2 separate regions of the Homo sapiens genome follow, and region 1 is linked to region 2. The links are contacts of gene promoters, found by promoter capture Hi-C in human tissues and cell types (Jung and others, 2019). All regions are on one chromosome and are shown on one strand. Each heading gives the region's core, a stretch centred on a gene start or on the middle of the fragment in contact. The rest is flanking DNA. Distances are from core to core; before and after follow the strand shown.

What was found. Contacts are between HindIII fragments. The study calls those that stand out against the background at their distance.
Region 1: a contact is called between a fragment that was not itself captured here and the fragment with the promoter of THAP4 in region 2, in 1 of the 25 tissues and cell types used here (dorsolateral prefrontal cortex).

What each region holds. Positions count from the first base shown.
Region 1 is chr2:241,082,595-241,085,978 of GRCh38, forward strand. The region is part of intron 29 of SNED1 (sushi, nidogen and EGF like domains 1); the gene reads left to right. It also overlaps a transcript of MTERF4 not described here. Among named protein-coding and RNA genes, the nearest start is that of MTERF4, 18 kb to the right of the region's middle. The HindIII fragment of the contact is 4,214 bases long and covers 1-3,384 here.
Region 2 is chr2:241,635,005-241,638,407 of GRCh38, forward strand. THAP4 (THAP domain containing 4) reads right to left here and starts at 2,154. Exons shown (of 6, transcript NM_015963.6): 1 at 1,937-2,154. The coding sequence starts at 2,013. It overlaps ATG4B (autophagy related 4B cysteine peptidase), which reads left to right and starts at 2,689. Exons shown (of 13, transcript NM_013325.5): 1 at 2,689-2,720. The coding sequence starts at 2,711. RefSeq lists silencers at 1,677-1,816, 1,887-1,956, 1,987-2,336, 2,707-2,756, 2,777-2,966 and 1 more and an enhancer at 2,310-3,237. The HindIII fragment of the contact is 20,762 bases long and covers 1-3,403 here.

The sequences.
Region 1 (3,384 bases), core at 300-2,799, 550 kb before region 2:
CGCAGGCTCCTGGTCCCCAGGCCCCCAGGCCTTCCTTCCCACACATCAGCCCAGTCCCCACTGGATGGCAGAGCCAACTGATGTGACCTTCCTCTCTTCTCTTCCTCAGAGCCCCCTGGAAAAACAAACAGCTCATGAGAATGCCGGCCCCAGTTCTGCCATTAACTCATGATGTGGCCTTAGGCCCCCCATCTCCAAAATGGGCTGTGGAGGGAGAGATGCCCAGCCCATCTCTTAGGTCCTTTCTTGCTAACACTCTATGACTCTGTCGGTCACACAGTCCATTTAGTCAACAGATGACTTACTGAGCACCTGCTGTGTGCCGGGCACTGTCCATTTAGTCAACAGATGACTTACTGAGTACCTGCTGTGTGCCGGGCACTGTTCTAGATACTCAGCACACATCAGAACAGAGCAGACCAAAGCCCTGCCTTCAGGACCCGTTCATTGCAGATGAGGGGACAGACAACAGACAGCAGTGAGAGTGTGGTGTGTGGTGTGGCAGGTGGTGAGTGCAAAGGGAAAAAGGACGAGATGACAGGACGAGACCAGGAGAGCCTGCTGGGGATGGGCAGGGCTGGTGCAGCAAGAGGGCAGCCTCCTGGGGAGGGCGATGCTGAACAGACATGGAGGAGGGATGGACATTCCAGAGCCAGAGGACAGTTACCAGGGCCCCAAGTCAGGAGTGTCCCTGGCATGTTGGGGGAGAAGTGGAGAGTGGTGAGAGGTGAGGGACAGGGAACCCTCGGGGCCATGGAGACCCACAGAAGGACTCTGGTGTTTGTCCGGCATGAAATGGGGAGGAGCTACTGAAGGGTTCTGAGCAGAAGAGTGACATGTTCGATTACACTACTTTGGATGCTCTGTGGAGAATGGGATGTAGACGGGCAAGGGTAGAAGCTTCATTAGAGCTTGGACATGAAGCCAGGTGTAATATGTAGCAGGAACACATATGAGATACTAATCTGTGTTGGGATTTGGGAAGCCGTGTTGACAGCCCACTGAATTCGGATTCTATGCAGTGAGAGTCCGAATCCACAGTATCTGCCATCTTCCCGCTGTGCTTAGTTACACCAGTGCCTGCTGGTGACCACCAAGTATCCAACAAGAAGACCCTTCACTTCCTGAAAGCATTCTATCCTTTCACTTTTAACCTATCTGCATATTTCAAGTGACTTTCTAGTATTTAACATAGAGGTGGGTCTTGCTGGATATCTAGTCTGACAGTCTGGTTTTTATTGGAGTATTTAGACCATTTACTACCTTCCACATAATGGCTGATGTGGTTGGATTTAAACTGCCATATTACTATTTGTTTTCTATTTTTCCCACCTGCTTTTTGTTCCTTTTTTCTTTTTTCCTGCCTAATTTTGGATTACTTTTTAGGATTCCATTTTGTCTCCACTATGGGCTTACTGGTTATACTTCTTAGGTTTATTGTTTAGAGGTTGCTCTGGGATTTGCCATACACATCTTCACCTTAACACAATGTACCCTTAATTACTATTGTACGAGTTCAATATGATGGCAGCGTCTAGGATTTTTTTTTTTTTTTTTTTGAGACAAAGTCTCCCTCTTGTCCCCCAGGCTGGAGTGCGATGGTGCGATCTTGGCTCATCGCAACCTCTGCCTCCTGGGTTCAAGCAATTCTCCTGCCTCAGCCCCCCGAGTAGCTGGGATTACAGGCGCCTGCCACCACACCCTGCTAATTTTTGTATTTTTAGTAGAGACAAAGTTTACGTAGAGACAGGGTTTCACCATGTTGGCCAGGCTGGTCTCAAACTCATGACCTCAGGTGATCCACCCACCTTGCCCTCCCAAAGTGCTGGGATTACAGGCGTGAGTGACTGTGCCCGGCCAGCAGTGTCTAGGATTTACCATACACATCTTCAACTTCACGCCGCATACCTTTAATCACTAGTAGACAACTTCAGTATCCATGGCAGCGGCTGACATCAAGCTTCCACTTCCCTCCCATCCTTTGAATTATTATCAGACTTTTTCCTTCCACATATGCTGTGAACTGCACTATACGTTATTTTTGCACTCAAAAATTATCTTGTTTTAGATATTGAAAGTAAAGTATTTTGTATTTATTGTACATCTGCCTGCCGACTCCAGCACTCTTCATTCCTTTTTGTAGATCTAGGATTCCATCTGGTATCATTTCTCTTTGCCATAAGAACTTAACTCTAACATCTCCTATAGCACAGGTCTGCAGGAGATGAATTCTCTCTGCTTTTGTCTGAAACTATTTTTTTTTCACCTTCATTTTTGAAGAATATATTTGCTGAATATAGACTTCTTGATTGACAGTTATATTTTTTTCTTTCATGACTTAAAAGTTGTCATGGCTTTGTCTTCTGGCTTGCATAGTTCCAGACAAGAAGACTGCAGTCATTCTTACCTGTGTTACACTGTATGGAATGTGTCTTCCTGCCCCTTTTATGTTTTCCCTTTATGACTGTTTTTGGACAATTTAATTATGATGTGCTTCTCGGTATGGCTACGTTTTGATTCTCTGGAGTTTAAGCTTCTTGTATTTCTGGGTTTTAATTTTGTCAAACTTCGTAAAATTTTTGCCATTATTTCTTCATATATTTTTCCTGTCCCTCCATTTCTTCTACTTCTGGGACTCCAGTTATGCGTGTATTAGACTGATATTGTCCCACAGGTCACTGCAGCTCTTCTCAACTTTTTCAGTCTTTTCATTTTGGACAGATTCTATTGCTATGCACTCAAGGTCATTGATCTTTTCTTCTGCAGCATCTACCATTAATCCTGTTCAACAAAAGTTTTATTAATACTGTGTTTTATCATCTCCAGAAGTTTCATTTAGTTGTTTCTTAGATGCTCCAATTTCTATCTTCATTATCTTTATATTTTCCTTTAGCTCACTGAACATGTGGAACAAATTTATAATAGATATTTTAAGGTCCTCATCTGCTATTTCTGTCATCACTCTCATGTCTGGGTCTTATTCTATTTGATTATTTTTCTCTAGGTTATGGGTCACTTTTTTGATTATTCAAATGATTCTTGAATGTCTTATAGTTTTTTATTGGATGCTGGGCATTGTAAGTTTTATGTTACTGACGCTGGATTTGTTTGTTTGTTTGTTTTCTTTTCAAGAATGTTTTTTCTCTGCAAGGCATTATCTGAGTATAGTTTGATCCTTCTGAGGCTTGTTTTAGGTGGCTTTGGAGTAGCCTTTATTCTGGGGTTAATTTTGCCCTAGTTCTATGGCATGGCCTTTCTGCGGTTTCTTTTTTTTTTTTTTTTTTTTTTTTGAGACAGTGTCTTGCTCTGTCGCCCAGGCTGGAGTGCAGTGGAGCGATCTCAGCTCACTACAACCTCCGCCCTCCTGGGTTCAAGCTATTCTCC
Region 2 (3,403 bases), core at 904-3,403:
TTAATGTTTAATGAGTCCAGAGATTCCGCTTTACAAAATAAAAATAATTCTGGAGGTGGATGGTAGTGACAGCTGCACAACAACGTGAATGTATTTGTTGCCATGAATTGTACACTGAAAAAGCGGTAGGAAAGGCTGGGAGCCGTGGCTCATGCCTGTGATCCCAGCTACTCTGGAGGCTGAGATGGGAGGACCACTTGGGTCCAGGAGGCTGAGGCTGCAGTGAGCTACGGTCATACCATTGCACTCCAGCCTGGGTGACAGAGTGGGACTCTGTCTCCAAAAAAAGTTAGGATGGTAAATTTCATGTTACATGTATTATACCATAATTTAAAAATGGTGAGAAAAAAGCAACCAGCGCAGGAAGATACTGAATAGGATGTTTAGTCATTTCTTTATTACCTAATAAAGATCCTTCATAACCATTTCTTCATTAAGGCAAACTCTGTGTTTAAGAACATAGGCCTGGGCCGGGCGGGGTGGCTTATGCCTGTAATCCCAGCACTTTGGGAGGCCGAGGCGGGTGGATCACTTGAGGTCAGGACTTTGAGGCCAGAGTTCGAGACCAGCCTGGCCAATATGGTGAAACCCTGTCTCTACTAAAAATACAAAAAAATTAGACAGGCGTGGTGGCGCTTGCCTGTAATCCCAGCTACTTGGGAGGCTGAAGCAGGAGAATAGCTTGAACCCAGGAGCGGGGGTTGCAGTGAGCCGAGATCGCACCAATGCACTCCAGCCTGGGCGACAGAGGGAGACTCCTTCTCAAAAAAAAGAGAAAAAAAGAAAAAAAAACCAGGCCCTAATGTGCACATAAGGGACAGGGTGGTCAGTTCTAACTGCTATTTGCTCCACCTGAGGCCAGTGTGGACCAGGACAAATCCTAACAGGATGGACTGGGCCGTTCTAAGCAACAGGACCTTCTAACCTCCTTTCTGAACACTGTGAGGCCAACTGCAAAGGTACCCCCCCACCCCCAATTCCGATGTCCTTTCCTCCCATACCATGTTAGACCGTTGCAACACGTTGCCTCGTTTTCAAAAAACAATAACAAAACTTCTAGGACACAAGCTCTGAAGGAAATTGTCAAGAAAGTGCGCTGGCTGACTTGTGAAATAATCTAATGTTACTAATTCTTATAATACATTGTAATGATTTAAGACTTACAGCAAACTACTGTGAACTTTCAATAACCCTATAAATAACACGTGCCATTCCCGTCTTTAAAACTTAAATAACACCATGCAACATAAAACAGAAACATCTCCAAAGTGGTTTTTAAAGTCTGTTCGCGGTTCTGGTGCCTCCCGCGTGTAATCCGCAGAAATCTCACTGAAATAGGCTGAACTCACAAGGCCTTAGAGGGGTTTGGGCCCTGCCGCGGGGGCCCACGTGGGAAGCGGCCGAGAGCCCCGGGCCAGGCTCTAAGGGAGCGCAGGAGGATGCCGTCCCCAGCCGGCCGTCCCGTAGACTCTCCGCGCGTACCCGCGTCCTGGGCTCGGGGGCCCAGTCCCGGAAAGCCCTCTCGGGGGCTGTCAGCTACGGAGGCGCAGGTCGCGTCTGCCCGGTCGCTCCTGCTCGCAGACATCCAGGCCGACGGCCCGCGCGGTCCGGAGAGTCAGCAGTCGCGGCCGAGCAGGACAATCGGCCCAGGACCTGCGCTTCCAGAGCGTGCGGCTTCTGAAGCCTAGGCGCCGGCCGGATCGATCGCGCGCAGGGCGGACCCAGGCGGCCGGGGTGGGGGCGGCTGCGCTGCCCGAGGCGCCCGGCCCAGAGACGGCGGCCGGGCCAAGGTCACACAGCGCCCACGCCCGCTCCCCCGCGCCCCGGCCGCCGAGGCCCGGCGCCCCCGCCCCCCGCGTTCGGGCCGGCCGCGGGGCCTCAGTTTCCCCGCAGGGCCGGGTCGGGGCGGGGGCGTGGCGGCCCGGGGCCCGCGTACCTGTGGAAGGAGACGGCGCGCTTCTCGCCCTTTCCCTGCCGGTTGGAGCAGTTCACGGCCGCACAGCAGATCACCATCGCGGGCCTTGGCCCAGCCGCGCAGCCAGGCCCCGGCCCTAGCCGCCCGCCCGCCCGCGGACCGCCCCGAGGGAGGGAGCGCGGCGGCGACACGGCTCGGGACGTGGGCCGGCCCGCGGCGTCCGCGCCGTACGGCAAGATGGAGGCGCAGGCGCCCGCAGCGGGCCCGCCCCCGCCCCAGCCCCCGCCCGCGTCCTCGCCAGCCGCGGGTTCGGGCGTCTTCGGACCAGCGGGGCGCCGCAGGCCCCTCGCAGCGTCCGTCGGCAGGCGGGCAGACGGGCGGGGGAGTCGCCCCGGCGGGGCAAGTCCGTACCGCGACATGGGCGCGCCGAGCACGTCCGTACCGCAAGATGGCTGCTCGGACGGGGACAGAGCTCGCCTCTGCCGCCTCGACAACTGCTCCTGGGTCCTCTAAGAGGAGGAAGCGCCACCCATGGCACACAGTGTCCCGTCGGACAGCAGAACCAGCCGTCGTCCCACGACACGACCCCATGCCGCCCGCAGGGCGCCCCGGGGCTCGCGTCGGCCCGGCCGTACGCCAAAATGGCGGCTCCCGCGTATTTCCGCTCGCGCGCCGTATCGTCTTCGCCGCCTGCGCCGGCACACCTATTGGCCCCCGCGGCGTCCCGTCGCCGCGTCGCGTTGCTGGCCCGTCGGAGCGACGCCGCTCGGGTCAGTCGGCGGCCGGACTGGGAAGATGGACGCAGGTGAGGAGTTGCCGGGGGTCGGTCTTTCCGCAGGAGGTGCTCGCCTTATCATTGGCCTCCCCTGCTCGGGTCGGGCTGCCGCGACTCGCCTCGGGGCACGCCGGTGCGGGCCAGGCTGGGCCGGGGCGGCGGGCGCTGCGGGAGCGCGGGGCGGTGTTGGTGGGTGGTGGGCGGTGGGAGCGGGAGGGGGACGGCGGCGCACTGCGCCGCGGAACCCGCCGTCGGTTGCGCTGGAGCTTCTGCTTTTCCGGTCCCGTCCGGAGCGCTCCGGAGGTTGTGGCTGCACAGGCCCTTGCGCCAGGTCGGCCGTGGAGGGCGGCGGAGCCTGCCGGGCGGGGAGAGGCGCGGCGGCGAACGGGGCGGCCGCGGTCCGGGCCGGGGACGCGAGCGGCGGGCGAAAGCGTAGCCTTTCCGCAGCTGAGCGTGAAGGGATGGAAGCTCTTTAACTTTTATGAAGTTATTGGTAGGTTGGAGGAGAGAAACGTGACGTGTTCATCACAGTATACGTATCTTTTTTGTTTTTGTCTTCAATTTAGTAACCAGTAGATTCTCCAAGCTGCTTTTCCGTGACGAGAAAGAGAAACAGTGAATTTGTATCATCGGGTCTTAGTTTCTTGGGGTCCTAAGAGAGAGAGAAAGAGAAGGAGTGTGTGTGTGTGTGTATAGGGAGTGTTGGTTTTTTT